Regions from separate parts of the Homo sapiens genome. Here all the other regions are linked to region 1. Evidence: promoter capture Hi-C in 16 types of primary human blood cells and fetal thymus (Javierre and others, 2016). All regions are on one chromosome and are shown on one strand. The core of a region is centred on a gene start or on the middle of the fragment in contact, and the rest is flanking DNA. Distances in the headings are between cores, read along the strand shown. Region 1 has its middle 4.9 kb from the start of MIR3678. Region 2 holds the start of KCTD2 (potassium channel tetramerization domain containing 2). Region 3 holds the start of JPT1 (Jupiter microtubule associated homolog 1).

Evidence for each region. The method cuts DNA at HindIII sites, captures the fragments that hold promoters and counts their contacts. A CHiCAGO score of 5 or more calls a contact.
Region 2: the fragment with the promoter of KCTD2 here is called in contact with a fragment that was not itself captured in region 1 in 1 of 17 cell types (M2 macrophages); the score reaches 6.4 in M2 macrophages.
Region 3: the fragment with the promoter of JPT1 here is called in contact with a fragment that was not itself captured in region 1 in 1 of 17 cell types (fetal thymus); the score reaches 7.5 in fetal thymus.

Annotation. Positions count from the first base shown.
Region 1 is chr17:75,408,442-75,413,502 of GRCh38, forward strand. It overlaps the pseudogene RNU6-938P. Among named protein-coding and RNA genes, the nearest start is that of MIR3678, 4.9 kb to the left of the region's middle. RefSeq lists a silencer at 4,147-4,441. The HindIII fragment of the contact is 3,119 bases long and covers 1,351-4,469 here.
Region 2 is chr17:75,044,086-75,049,146 of GRCh38, forward strand. KCTD2 (potassium channel tetramerization domain containing 2) reads left to right here and starts at 3,140. Exons shown (of 6, transcript NM_015353.3): 1 at 3,140-3,504. The coding sequence starts at 3,166. ATP5PD (ATP synthase peripheral stalk subunit d) reads right to left here and starts at 2,884. Exons shown (of 6, transcript NM_006356.3): 1 at 2,840-2,884. RefSeq lists enhancers at 2,351-2,420, 2,359-2,944, 2,829-3,123 and a silencer at 2,821-3,250. The HindIII fragment of the contact is 5,200 bases long and covers 714-5,061 here.
Region 3 is chr17:75,152,547-75,157,607 of GRCh38, forward strand. It overlaps JPT1 (Jupiter microtubule associated homolog 1), which reads right to left and starts at 1,966. Exons shown (of 5, transcript NM_016185.4): 1 at 1,796-1,966. The coding sequence starts at 1,851. RefSeq lists a silencer at 1,562-1,801 and an enhancer at 2,454-3,049. The HindIII fragment of the contact is 22,783 bases long and covers 624-5,061 here.

The DNA of each region.
Region 1 (5,061 bases), core at 1,660-4,159:
TGAAAGGTAGTCAACTATTTTTAGGGAAAAGGAATGAGCCCAAACAATGCCTGGGACAAAGTTCCTCTGAGCTCTGGGAGCTGGAGGTTGTGACAAATTTCAGGAAGGTGAGGTGCAGGACTTCACTGTAAATAAAGGTTGTCTTATTATGCAGATAAAGTCTCCTAAATAATCTCAGCTGTCCTCAGGAGAATAGATGAAAAGTCTGTTTGGATGTGGTGACAACTTTTAGTCTTTTCTCTTCTCTGGTAGTTAATATTTCCTGGTTATTTGACGAGAGTCCTAGGGAGGAAATTTTAAGACAGTCGCATCTATTTTTTTTCTTTTCTTTTCTTTTTTTTTTTTTTGAGATGTAGTTTCACTCTTGTTGTCCAGGCTGGAGTGCAATGGCGTGATCTCAGCTCACCGAAACCTCCACCTCCCAGGTTCAAGTGATGCTCCTGCCTCAGCCTCCAGAGTAGCTGGCATTACAGGCATGCACCACCACGCCCGGCTAATTTTGTATGTTTAGCAGAGATGGGGCTTTTCCCTGTTGGTCAGGCTGGTCTCGAACTCCCGACCTCAGGTGATCCGCCCGCCTTGGCCTCCCAAAGTGCTGGGATCACAGGCGTGAGCCACCACACCTGCTCTTTTTCTTTCTTTCTTTTTTAATGGATCCCTTCACAGATTTGCATGTCTTCTTGCTCAGGGGCTATGCTAATCTCTGTATCATTCCAATTTTAGTATATGTGCTGCCAAAGCAAGTACACAATTGAATTTCTTTTGGTTTCTCAGTCAGCTAAGGGAACTTTCAGACAGCCCCTGCATGCATGTGGGGTGGTGAAACAAGACTTTAAAAAGTCCTTGGTTCTGAGGCAGCTTGTAAGTCCTTCCAATTTCCTTTCATTCAAAAGTGCTCAGAATGCCAGAGGAGCATACTTTGGGGTATCATTCTCTGAGCCCCAACATGATGATGACTCATTTTTGGAAATGCAGAATTCAGCATTCCAGGAGACATGCAGGTGGAAATATTCAGTATGCTGTTGAAAAGCTTGACAAGCTGGACGCAGCGTTCTCTCCCATAATCCCAGCACTTTGGGAGGCTGAGGCAGGTGGATCACTTGAAGTCAGGAGTTTGAGACCAGCCTAGCCAACATGGTGAAACCTCATCTCTACTAAAAATGCAAAAATTAGCCGGGCGTGGTGGCACATGCTTGTAACCCCAGCTACTCGGGAGGCTGAGGCAGGAGAATTGCTTGAACCCAGGAGGCGGAGGTTGCAGTAAGCAAAGATCATGCCACTGCACTCCAACCTGGGTGACAGAACCAGACTCCATCTCAAAAAAAAAAATAAATAAATAAATAAAAGAAAAGCTTAATGTACTCATTCATTCTCTTTGCCAACATTAACTAAGCATCTATTCTCTTTGTTTGTTTTTTTTTGTTTTTGAGACAGGGTCTCACTCTTGTCACCCAGGCTGGAGTGCAGTGGCGCAACCTCAGCTCACTGCAGCCTTGACTTCCCAGGCTCAGGTAATTCTCCCATCTGAGTCTCCCAAGTAGCCAGAACTACAGGCACATGCCGCCATGCCCAGCTAATTTTTTGTGTTATGTAAGTATGTATGTATGTACGTATGTATGTATGTATGTATGTATTGAGACAGGGTCTCACTCTGTTGCCCAGGCTGGAGTGCAGTGGCACGATCAGGGCTCACTGCAGCCTCAACCTCCTGGGCAAGAGATCCTCCTGCCTCAGCCCCCCAGTACCTGGGACAACAGTCATGCACCACCACGCTTGGCTAAATTTTTGTGTTTTTAGTAGAGATGGGTATCATCATGTTGGTTAGGTTGGTCTCAAACTCCTGGGCTCAGGCAATCTGCCCGCCTTGGCCTCCCAAAGTGCTAAGATTACAAGCGTGAGCCACCACGCCCAGCCTAGAGCATCTACTCTCTAGAGAGGAGGACAACCCTCCACAGAGTCTGCAGCCTGAAGGGGAAGACATGTCTCTGAGAATTTGACCAGGATAGTGCTGGTGGCTTTGGAAGCATACAGCAGGGGACCTGACCTCATCCACTATGAGGGAAGGCAGAGGAAGTGGGCTTTAAGCTGAGACCCTGGTTAGCCTGAGAGGAAGAAATGATACAGCAAGTGTGAAGGCCAGACAGTAAGCAAGGATGTAAGGAAGCCAATAGCTGGGACAAGGAAGGATGTGTGGCATGTGGGTAAAGCAGCTGAAGAGGCTCGTGAAGGGCCTTTGCTTTTCTCTCTCTCTCTCTCTCTCTTTTTTTGAGATAGGGTCTTGCTGTATTGCCCAGGCTGAAGTACAGTGGTGTGATCACAACTCACTGCAGCCTCAACCTCCTGAACTCAAACAATCCTCCTGCCACATAGCTGGGATCATAGGCATGCGCCATCACCATGCCTGACTAATTTTTTTTTTTTTTTTTTTGAGACAGAGTCTTGCTCTGTCACCCAGGCTGGAGTGAAGTGGCACCATCTTGGCTCACTGCAACCTCTGCCTCCCAGGTTGAAGCAATTCTCCTGCCTCAGCCTCCCCAATAGCTGGGACTACAGGCACGCACCACCACGCCTGGGTAATTTTCGTATTTTTAGTAGAGATGGGGGTATCACCATGTTGGCCAGGCTGCTCTCGAACTCCTGACCTCAGATGATCCACACACCTCGGCCTCCCAAAGTGCTGGGATTACAGGCATAGGCCACTGCACCCAGACTAATTTTTTTATTTTTTGTAGAGAAGAGGAGTCTGACTTTGTTGCTAGCCTGGTCTTGAACTCTTGATCCTCCCACCTCAGCATCCTAAAGTGCTGGGGTTACAGGCATGAGCCACTGCACCCACTTTTTCATTATTGCTAAAGACTTGAGACTTGACTCTGTGGAATACTGAAGTAGGAGTGGGCCATGGTCAAATTTTTATCTTCCAAATATTTTGTCACTCTGGCTGCAGAGTAGAAAACCAATTGGAACTAAGACATTCATCATCTACTGTCTCAAGTCCCTTACAAGGCTCTTAAAGATCTGGCCCTTCCAGCCAGTGCCACCTTCTCAGTCTCCAGTAACACATACTCCACCAATACTAACCCACTTGTGGTTTCCGGAAGGTGTCATGATCCTTTGAGTGTCCATATCTTTACACATGCAATTTCCTCTGTTCAGTTGGCTTTCTACCCTTCCACTAGGTCCCCAAGTCAGTTTTCTTCTTCAAAATTTCCATGGTAGGTCAGGCACAGTGGCTCACATCTCACTTTAGGAGGTGGAGGTGGGTGGATCAGTTGAGTCCAGGAGTTCAAGACCAACCTGGGCAACATGGTAAAACCCCACCTCTACTAAAAATGCAAAAATTAGCTGGGCAGGGTGGCAAACACCTCTAGTTGGGAGCTACTCAGGAGGCTGAGGTAGTAGGATCATCTGAGCCCGGGAGATGGAGGCTACAGTGAGGCATGATCGTGTCACTGCATTCAGCCTGGGCAACAGAGCAAGACCCTGTCTCAAAAAAAAAAAAAAAAAAATTCCCACCATACCTCCAATCTCATTGCATCATGAATCATTCACTCATTGTCCCCCAGCCCTCCCCGCTCGGTGGTCTACAAGCTCCCAAACAGACAGGGTCACCTTTTCACATTTGTATTCCCAGTACCCAGCACAGTGCATGCAGTGAATAAATGGATGGATGGATGGACGGATGAATAATAAAGGCTGACCAGAGACTGAAATGTAGCTGCTTTTCTGTGCTGTGGTGGTATTTAAAGCTAAGGAAGTGGGTGAGATCTCAGAAAAGAGTAGATGCCTAAGAGAACAGGAAAAAAAAAGTTAAGTATTTCCTTTTAAAATACACCATTGATAAAAACAGACATTGAGTATGTTCATGTAAAAGTATATGCATGGGAACCAGATTTGGAAGGGAACATTTAAAAGTAAAAATAATATGTGTTAAAATGGTAGGCTCGTGGGTGACTTTTTTTTAAGTCAACATTTGTTATATTGCCTTTTTGATAAATTTTTTTTTCTCACAGACACAGACTCAGAAACTTGAGACAACGTTGCCCAAGATCATTCCACACTGAGAAAAAAACACATTAGAGGCAGCAGTGTTTTGAATAGGTGCATGGCTAGTGTTAAATAATGGAAAGAAATTGGAACAAGAGGCAAGTTGTGAAGTAAAAGTCACACCCTGGTATGAAAACCTGTTGTCACTGTAGCGAAACTTGCTAATTACAGACCGGCTCCATCAGTAGCTTCACAATGCACAAAATCACCAAAAAAGTCTCTGTTTTCCTTGGGGGTTTTTAGTCGTCGGAAAGGGCTTCAGGCTTTGTTTTCTGTGAGTTACGGGGCTGCCACCTGCAGGTAAAATCTGGACATTGCCCTGAAATTGACCGAACCTTGGATACAAACCCGGCCTGACAGTGAGCCTCTTTCCCTTAGCACCTGGCTCAAGACCCTCTCAGGGTCATCCTGAGCCCATATTTCCAAGCTTCTCTTTAGGGGGAAAGCACTAGATACCCAGTAACAGCCAGTGACAGCCTAAAATTGGGCATTTGAAATTCTATGCTCCCTTGCCCAATTGATCTTGGAAGTTCTCATCTAGAATTTCCTTCACTTAAGTTGTGATCCAAGGCTGTGTACTCCTCTCAGGCTTCCAGTGTTCCCTCTGATGCTGAGTTTAGCAATGAGACCAAGTGCTGTGACCCCTCTCCAACATCCTGGCCACCTTTTCCTTCCTTCCTTCCTTCTTTCCTTCCTTCCTGCCTTCCCTCCCTCCCTCTTTCTTTCCTTCCTTCCTTCTTTCTTTTTTCTTTCTTTCCTTTCTTTTTCCTTTCATTTTCTTTTTTTCTCTTTCTTTCTTCATTTTCTTTCTTTCTCTCTCTTTCTCTCTTCCTTTCTTTACCTTCTTTCTTTCCTCTCTTTCTCTTTATCTCTCCCTCTTTCTCTCTTTCTCTCTCCCTCTTTCTCTCTTTCTCTCTCTCTCTTTTAGACAGAGTCCTGCTCTGTTGCCCAGGCTGGAGTACAGTGGCACAATCTTGACTCACTATAACCTCTGCCTCCTCGGTTCAAGTGATTCTC
Region 2 (5,061 bases), core at 1,890-4,389, 360 kb before region 1:
ATCATCTTGGCTCACTGCAACCTCCACCTCCCAGGCTCAAGCGATTCTCCTGCCTCAGCCTCCGGAGTAGCTGGGATTACAGGCACCCACCACCACACCCAGCTAATTTTTGTATTTTTTTTTTTTTTTTTGAGACGGAGTCTCGCTCTGTCGCCCAGGCCGGACTGCGGACTGCAGTGGCGCAATCTCGGCTCACTGCAAACTCCGCTTCCCGGGTTCACGCCATTCTCCTGCCTCAGCCTCCCGAGTAGCTGGGACTACAGGCGCCCGCCACCGCGCCCGGCTAATTTTTTGTATTTTTAGTAGAGACGGGGTTTCACCTTGTTAGCCAGGATGGTCTCGATCTCCTGACCTCATGATCCACCCGCCTCGGCCTCCCAAAGTGCTGGGATTATAGGCGTGAGCCACCGCGCCCGGCCCTAATTTTTGTATTTTTAGTAGAGACAGGGTTTCTCCACGTTGGCCAGGATGGGCTGAAACTCCAGACCTCAGGTGATCCACCCACCTCAGCCTTGCAAAGTGCTGGAATTACAGGCATGAGCCACCGCGCCCGGCCTGCATTTTAAGAGGTATTCAACACATGTGAAAATGTGAGAAAAATACAGAAAACGACTACAGCCACTTAAAAAAAAAGTCAGAATATAGGAAAATAGTCCTCTTTAAGTAAGATCAGGGTCAGATATTAAAAGACTGCAAAGTCAAAAATCTCTATAAGCTTGGAGTGGAATGCAAGGGAGGCGGAAGCAGTCTTTCTCAGGATCTTCAAGAAAGTTGTCAAACACCTGTCCTGTCCTTCCTTTCTTTCTCAGGACAGCCTGTTTCCTGTTGTGGAGGGGAGGTGTTAAGGCAATTGGCATGTGATTTTAAAGTTACCAGGGAACCAAGCACCCTTACAGACTTTCCCAAACATCAGTGTATCGGGGAACTTGCCCCGATAGTCACATAGGTTCTTTTCTATTTTCCTAAGCGTCGACTGGCTTGACAGAGTACAAAAGAGAGAAATTTTAAAGCTGGGCGTCCGGGGGAGACATCACACGTTGGTAGGATCCGTGATGCCCCACAAGCCACAAAAACCAGCAAGTTTTTATTAGGGAGTTTCAAAAGGGGAGGGAGTATACGAATAGGTGTGGGTGACAGACATCAAGTACTTAACAGGGTAATAGAATATCACAAGGCAAGTGGAGGCAGGGTGAGATCACAAGACCACAGGACCAGAGCGAAATTAAAATTGCTAATGAAGTTTTGGGCACCATTGTCATTGATAACATCTTATCAGGAGACAGGGTTTTCAGATCAACCGGTCTGACCAAAATTTATTAGGTGGGAATTTCCTTTTCCTAATAAGCCTGGGATCGCTATGGGAGACTGGAGTTTATTTCACCCCTGCAGTCTCAACCATAAGAGACAGGTACGCCCCAGGGGGGCCAGTTCAGAGACCTACCCCTAGGTGCGCATTCTCTTTCTCAGGGATATCCCATGCTGAGAAAAAGAATTCAGCGATATTTCTCCCATTTGCTTTTGAAGGAAGAGAAATATGGCTCTGTTCTGCCCGGCTCACCGGCGGTCAGAGTTTAAGGTTCTCTCTTGTTCCCTGAACAATTGCTGTTATCCTGTTCTTTTTTCAGGGTGCCCACATTTCATATTGCTCAAACACACATGCTGTACAATTTTTGTAGTTAACACAATTATTACAGGGTCCTGGAACGATATACATCCTCAACTGACAGGATTAAGAGATTAAAGACAAGACAGGCATAGGAAATCAGAAGAGTATTGACTGGGGAAGTGATAAGTGTCCATGAAATCTCTACAATTTATGTTTAGAGATTGCAGTAAAGACAGGCATAAGAAATTACAAAAGTATTAATTTGGGGAACTAATAAATGTCCATAAAATCTTCACAATCCACGTTCTTCTGCCATGGTTTCAGCCGGTCTCTCTGTTTGGGGTCCCTGATTTCCCGCAACATCAGTGGAAAATGGAAGTCACAAATAACTTTGTGTGTGTGTGTGAGTGAGACGGAGTCTCGCACTGTCGCCTGGGCTGGAGTGTAGTGGCGTGGTCTCGGCTCACTGCAACCTCCGCCTCCCGGGTTCAAGCGATTCTCCTGCCTCAGCCTCCCGAGCAGCTGGGATTATAGGGGCCTTCCACCACGCCCAGCTAATTTTTTGTATTTTTAGTAGAGGCGGGGTTTCACTACGTTGGCCAGGCTGGTCTCGAACTCCTGACCTCGCGATTCGCCCGCCTTGGCCTCCTAAAATTCTGGGATTACAGGCGTGAGCCACCGCGCCCGGCGAAATTTTTTTTAATTCTTAAAAATCTATTGCTTAATCCCCAGCGCCTAGAACAGATCATGCGCATAGGAGGTGCTCAATGAATCTTTCTTGAATGAGTAACCGAACTCTGCACCCGAGGAGCCCTGAACGCTCTATACGTTCGAATCCTGGAAGCTGCCGAAGGGGAAGGGCGCAGCCCCGCAGCCAGCTGAGCGTCCCTCGGCAGGTTAACACTGTCTGCGTAATGTTTCCCCAGTCCCCCCACCAAACTATTGAAGTCTGCCGCGCTGGGAGCGGACTGCACGAGACACGGCTTGTGGCAGCGCCTACATCAGCGGCGCCTGGGACACAGCCGGGCCCCCCTGACCCCGCGCGCCAAGGAGGGCTGAGGAAGGGATCGCGGGGCGAGGAGCGGCAGCTACACAAGGGACACTCTGCCAGCGGGGCAAGCCGAGGGCCCAGCGTCCTTGACGGGGGCGTGACAAGGGTCGGCGTGAGGTTTGGAGAGGGCAGAGCAGAGGAGCCCTCCAGGGATCGGATCCAATGCCCCAAGCCCCACTCACCTTCACCGACCCTGGCTGCCCACGGTCCTCCGCAGCAAGTAACGGAAGTGGGTCACGGGAAGATCTTTCCTCAGCCAACCCCAAAGCCAAGGGGGTGGGCCTTGCTTCGCAGATCAGCCAATAGAGATGAGGGCTGGTTCCGGAAGTATCTTCCCGGGGGCGGGCACAGCGCCTCCCCCGCGCGGGTCCCCGGGCGCTGGTTGGGGGCGCTCCCGTCCCTCTCCCCTCTGCCCCACCCCCGCCGATGGGCCGGCCCGGCTCTCCCTGCCGAGAAATGGGCCGGCCCGGCTGCGCGCGGGCAGCAGCGGTGGCGGCGGCGGTCCAAGATGGCGGAACTGCAGCTGGACCCGGCGATGGCGGGGCTGGGAGGGGGCGGCGGGAGTGGGGTGGGCGACGGGGGTGGCCCAGTCCGCGGGCCCCCCAGCCCACGCCCGGCTGGCCCCACGCCCCGCGGGCACGGCCGCCCGGCTGCCGCCGTCGCGCAGCCGCTGGAGCCGGGTCCCGGACCACCCGAGCGGGCAGGGGGCGGCGGCGCGGCCCGCTGGGTCAGGCTGAACGTGGGAGGCACCTACTTCGTGACCACCAGACAGACCTTAGGCCGGGAGCCCAAGTCATTTCTCTGCCGCCTCTGCTGCCAGGAGGACCCGGAGCTGGACTCAGACAAGGTGTGCCCCGCCCTCGGGCGCGCCCCCGGGCCTTCGAACCCCCTGGTTTCTCGTAGATCGGTCCCCAGAGTCCTGAGACACGCTCCTCACAGGCAGCCCCCTCAGGCCGGGACCCCATCCTCCCCCTCCCTCCCACACTACTCGCAGGGGCCTCAGAGGGACCTCCCACTCCCCTTCTTCCATGCTGAGGCATACTCTGGCTTTCTCCCCGACCCCGCCCTTCGTTCTCTGAGACTCCTTCCCACACTGCGCCCACCTGCACCCACGAGAACGCACTCCACACCCCTTCTCCATATTCTCTGCCCCTGACATCCCACTGAGATCTGCATGAGTTTTCCCTGGCTCCTCTTCAGTCCCCCCACTGCCGGTGCCAGATGCATCCAGAACTGGGTCAGGGTTAGCTCAGGCATCCTTGTAGCTTTCTCAGACTCCCTCTCGGACCCCTCTGCCAAGTTGGGCTTCCACAGCTGCAGGAAGCGCTCCTTGTGATATCACACTGCTTTTCTATAGTCCTGGTCGCAGAACTTTTATCTGTTAACAGTCACTGGTTTAGGTCCATATTTAGATCAAATGCGTTTTTTGGAAAGAGGTTACTGTTTGCCGCTGCAAATCTAGGCTAAGACAGAAGGAAAATGAAAATTTTCCCGGGAAAATTTTGGGCAGGATGCATGGCTGCTAACCAAAGGGTTGAGAGGTGACAAGACACTTAAACCATTTCCAGTTTGAACTGTGTCAATTTCTTTTTAACTTTACGTATTCACCTTTAAGTTCTCAACTTAAAGGCACTGACCATAACTCACACCATCTTATATCCCATATAGCACTCAGCTGGTGACCTCAAAACAGAGCTGGAGTTGCGTAAACATTTGTTGTTTTCGTTTATTCCTCTTCTCTAAGAAATCTCAGATTGATGGAAACCTATCCTGCCCTAACTTTAAAGAGATTTCAAAACCCTTGCTTATAAAGGAATTATTTTTATCTACTCTATATCCTCCTTGTGGTAATAGAAGCCAGTTTCTTCTTGTTCCTTTTACTGTAAAGATGAGTAGGATTAAAGCTGCTCAGAGCCAAGTCCTGGCAGTACCGAGCTTCCTCTGGGCACAGAGCTGGGGTGTGTGAGATTACAGCTGGCAGTGCAAACTCCCACTGATGTTGGCCTTGAGCTCAGGAGCATTGCCAACTACACAGAGGTTTTCTTGGAATTAGGAATGCAGTTCAGAGGCAGTGGAAAAGTCAGAATGTCCATCTCAAGCAAAGATTTCAGTTACACAGCTACGGCATTTTCTCCCTTTCTTAATAACAAACACGCTACAGAAGAATGTTTGTCACTGTAATTATTGTCCAGGCAAAGATTGCAAATTCCAGCCAGTAAGTAAACGCCTAAATGAGTATGACTGTCTGTAACACCCTACCTAAGATGATCTTAATGTACAAGATACATAAAGCTATAGCTTTCTTACCAATAGTTTGTGACAAATGTGTAACAAAATTTGCCATCACTAAAGTCTTTTTTAGCTGATGGAATGAATTGTTGTCTTGGGGCGCTGACAAAGATGG
Region 3 (5,061 bases), core at 716-3,215, 260 kb before region 1:
ACATTCATTTCACAGGATCAGAACTCATTTGTCTCACATTTCAAATGTACACATGAAAAACTAAGTGTGAGGATTCATTTGACCTAATTACTGAAATTCTTTACAAAACACTAATATCAACTCAACCCCAAAGAATAAAACCCCAGATTACACATTATCATTCCGACGACTGAAGTCTAACCGGCAGAAAGTTGGCCTCGTAACACAAAATGAAAAACCAAGGCTCAATCTCTTCCTGTTCTCTGAAGAAATCATCTCATTGGAAAGAAAACAGAAAGGGAGCGACCAGTTTCCTAGGTCTGTGCTACTTAAGTACCCCATCCTCCCAGTAATCACCAATTTATTTTTTTAATCTTACCTAGTCTTTTTGACCTTGTAAACCTGAAAGTATTGAGTTGTAAAGGAATGTCATTTCCCATGCTTTCCTCCTAAGGCTCAATTGCTGAGTGAGGCGTGCTTTTTGTTCCCAAGTTCTCTAACCCCTGTGAGATATGGCTATTTCACGTGTCTTCTTAGCCCCACAAAATGGCTCCCTTTGTGCCACTTGGCCAGGACCCCGAGGGTAGCCACACATGAATGCAGGTCATAATCGATGTAAAATACATGCTCAAAAAAGTGATTTAAGCTTCTTCCAAGCCTTGAAGAGGATCCCAGACATAACTGTAACCCACCTTAAAGAACAGTGTGCAATTAGCTGAGACAATGTGGACACCTTCCACAGAATCCAAACCCTTCCACCAAGTAAGTTAAGCAAGGACTTGGAAAAGGGTTCCTGTCCAAACACTGTACCCAGTGCCCCAAGCCCAAAAAGCAGTGGGAAGAAGGGCAAGAAAAATCCCCCGCTTCCCAGGTAGCGCTACCACGTTAGAGACAATGGATGTCTCCGGCCCCGCCCAAGAACAAGAAACCTCCTCCTGCAAGGGAACCAGGGCCAGGGATGAACTCACTGGGCAAACGTCAAAGGAGGAAGCGAAGGTAGGATGCAAAGGCCACGGTCCGAAGGTTTAAGCGCAGAAAACCCACTCGGGTTGGCTCGTTCCCCGCGCCCGCCCCCGCCCCCCGCCTTAGAAATGAGCGCAGGGATGGGGAGAAGGGGTCTTTCCTTTGTTAGGAAGGGGAGACACTTGGAAGAGGGGAGGCACTTCGAAGAGGGGAAGAACGATTGGGTCCTCAATGGGGGGTGAAGGGTCGCGATGACCAGCCCCGCTCGACCACACATGCACCTGTCAGGTAGGTCCGAATAAGGAGTGGGGGCACGGCGAGGGTAAGGAGCCCGCCGGACCTGATCGATCCGGTCTCCGGATCCAATGGCTGCGCGCGAGAGCGAGACCAACCGCATGCCACGGGGGAGAGACAGGAGCGCGTGGCCCATCAATGGGACAATAGGACCTGACCATGCATGGGGCCCTAAAGGATCCCCGGGCACCTGGGGGGCCAAGCCCACCACCCTGGGGATGCACCAGCCGGGATGCACACAGGAGAAAGCGAAGCCCTCCCCGAAGGTTCCGATTAACGAAAACCGGCCGTGCTCCGAGGGGCGACCAGCCCCGGCCTCCTCAGCCCCTGACTCCGTGGAAGGAATGAATGGAGAGCAGCAGGGACCCGGGTGGGGCCGGCGCGCAGGGCTCGCCAGGCGGCACAAAGGCGGCGCCGACGGCAGAACCCCGCCACCCGCCCCGGCGCGAGCACAGCGCACGGGGCTCGTTACCCGCAACGACCGGCGCGAGGCCCCGCCGGCAGCGGCCCTCCCAGCCCCTCAGCCCCGCGCGGCTCGGGCGCGACCCGGTCGCCTCACCGGGAGCTATTCCTGCTGTTGGGGTCGACTCCCTTGAAGGTGGTGGTTGTGGTCATGGCGCCGAGGAGCGAGGTAGGCTGGCGCCGGAGCAGAACGCTCAAAGGGTCGGACCCGAGGGGCGCTGGGAAACTCCACACCCAACAGCCGACCACCGCTGCAGGAGCCGCCGCTGCCGCCTGTCCGGCCGATCGACGCCTTTATAGGGTTTTCAACCCCCGCCCCCTAACCCGCCGGCATTGGCCGATTCAAATGAATTCTTTCATTCCTATTGGCTCTCTGGAGTGCCAAGCACCATGCGGCATTACGATGGGCTGTGGCGGCCACGGCTCAGCCTAAGCCCGCCCCCTTCCTGGACTGGGAAGGCCTTGGGACTCTCTCCCCTCCCCCACCCCAAAATCTCGGCGATGATTGGACGGAAGGCGAATCTACCTCGCGCTGGGTGGAAGTCGTGCTGGCTGTCACTGTAAAACGTTACCTGACAGAGGGGGAAGCTCTTTCTTGGGGAGTTACAACCTCGGCAAGCAGAAGGGAGATTTGTCACTGTTACTGTTCTCTCATTTGCTTTACTGATGGTGGGATAGTAAGGGCATCCTCCTTAAAGGATGAAAAGTACTGCAACAAGTTGACATTTATCTGTTGAATACCTACTGTGTGTCCCATTTAGAAACCTAATAGTCTCAAAGCAGCCGCACAATGAGTCAGCAACAGAGAGCGCACCAAGATGATCCCTTTTAAAAGGACTGGAAATTCCTTACATTTTAATGTTACTGTTTAGTTGTAATGGGTGGTGCATGTACTGGACCAAAATTACAGTCGCTCCTATTTGGGGGCCTATTCTAAGGCTGGTTAATGCCTGGCACCAGGAATGGACTCATTCCCTGCTACCAAGACTATGGAAGCAGCTCAGGCCTCTGCAGCTGTTTATAACCCTTAAGTCATGACTCTTCCACCTGTCTGGGTAAATCTATCCATGCGACAAATGCAGACACACTTGGAGGATTCAGGAATGATGGTTTACAAGATCATAATAGGAAAGCCTTGGGCAAAAGAGGGCAGGCCCTTCTCATGTCTTGCATATTTCCTCAAGGCAGATGTCTTTGCTTGTCTCAATATTTCCATAATAATTGAACCACATTCCTCTTTGCAAAGCCACCTTTCAGGTAGTTGGAAGTTTGTATTCTGGGCAGTCTAGGTTAACCACCCTCCCCCCCCGGGCTTTCATGAAAAGCCAGTGAGAAGTTCTGTTCTAGAAAGCACGGATGATGCATTTATGTGCTTACCACAACAGCACGAAGCGCACCACTTGTTTGTGTTAGAATCTTCCCTTCTTTTTTTCCTTTCTTTTTTTTTTTTGTTTTTGAAGTGGAGTTTCGCTCTTGTCACCCAGGCTAGAGTGCAATGGCGCTCAATGCAACCTCCACCTCCCAGGTTCAAGCGATTCTCCTGCCTCAGCCTCCGTAATAGCTGGAACTACAGGCGTGCGCCACCACCCCTGACTAATTTTTGTATTTTTAGTAGAGACGGCGTTTCACCATATTGGCCAGGCTGGTCTCAAACTCCTGACCTCAGGTGATCCATGCTCCTTGGCCTCCCAAAGTGCTGGGATTACAGGTGTAAGCCACCGCATCTAGCCAAAATCTTAGCTTTTTTTTTTTTTTTTTGAGACAGAGTCTTGCTCTGTCGCCCAGGCTGGAGTGCAGTGGTGGCGCGATCTCTGCTCACTTGCAGCCTCCACCTCCCGGGTTCAAGCGATTCTCCTGCCTCAGCCTCCCGAGTAGCTAGGACTACAGGTGCGTGCCATCATGCCCGGCTAATTTTTTGTAGTTTATTAGTAGAGATGGAGTTTCACCATGTTAGCCAGCATGGTCTCAATCTCCTGACCTCGTGATCCACCCACCTTGGCTTCCCAAAGTGCTGGGATTACAGGTGTGAACCACCGCACGCCCAGCCAATCTTCCCATTCTTTCTTTTTTTGTTGTTGTTGTTTTCGTTTTTTTGAGACAGAGTCTCGCTCTGTCGCCCAGGCTGGAGTGCGGTGGCATAATCTCGGTTCACTGCAAGCTCCGCCTCCCGGGTTCACGCCATTCTCCTGCCTCAGCCTCCCAAGTAGCTGGGACTACAGGCGCCCACCACCATGCCTGGCTAATTTTTGTATTTTTAGTAGAGATGGGGTTTCACCGTGTTAGCCAGGATGGTCTAGATCTCCTGACCTCGTGATCCGCCCACCTCGGCCTACCAAAGTGCTGGGATTACAGCATGAGCCACCGCACCTGGCCAATCTTCCCATTCTTTTTTTTTTTTTTTTTTTTTTTTTTTGAGATAGAGTCTCGCTCTGTCGCCCAGGCTGGAGTGCAGTGGCACAATCTCGGCTCACTGCAAGCTCCACCTCCCACGTTCATGCCATTCCCATGCCTCAGCCTCCTGAGTAGCTGGGACTACAGGCGCCTGCCACCACGCCCGGCTAATTTTTTTGTATTTTTTTTAGTAGAGACGGGGTTTCACCATGTTAGCCAGGATGGTCTCGATCTCCTGACCTCGTGATCCGCCCACCTCGGCCTCCCAAAGTGCTAGGATTACAGGCGTGAGCCACTGCGCCCGGCCCAATCTTCCCACTCTTAAAGGCTGAGCCTATATTTCCAAAATCTTAAAAGAAAAAAAAATCAGACCAATCTAGCCAGTGAGCACGCCCTCCTCAGAAACCATATAATTATCAACTAGGAGGTAGTGGAGTATAGTGGTTGCTAGCTCAGACTCTCATGGGATAAATTTGGATTGGAATCTCGACCCTTACCTTTTCTAAGCACTAGTTTTCACCTTTCTGAAATAAACACACAATAGTACCTGGGGGTCTGTGGAGTTTTGGGGACTAAGTGACCTCATGGATGTAAACGGCTTGGCTCAATATACAAGTCATCAAAGTGATAGTCCATTTTATTATCAGACTTATTTAGAAAGCAATCACATACTTGTATGTTAAATGAGGGGTTTGGACTTGACTCGCATGGTCTTTTGGCTTACATTTTCAGGTTGTACTTATTTCCTTGCAGTCTAATAGAAGATAGCTTGGTGAGGCAATGCTACAATAGACTAGAAGTCAAAAGACCTAAGTTCTGGTTTTGCCTTTTCCCAATATAAGACACTGGTACATCATTTATGCCCTTGAGCCTCAATTTTCTTATCTATAAAATGGGATTGCAGGCTGGCACGGTGGCTCACGCCTGTAATCCCAGCACTTTGGGAGGCAGAGGTGGGCGGATCAGAAGGTC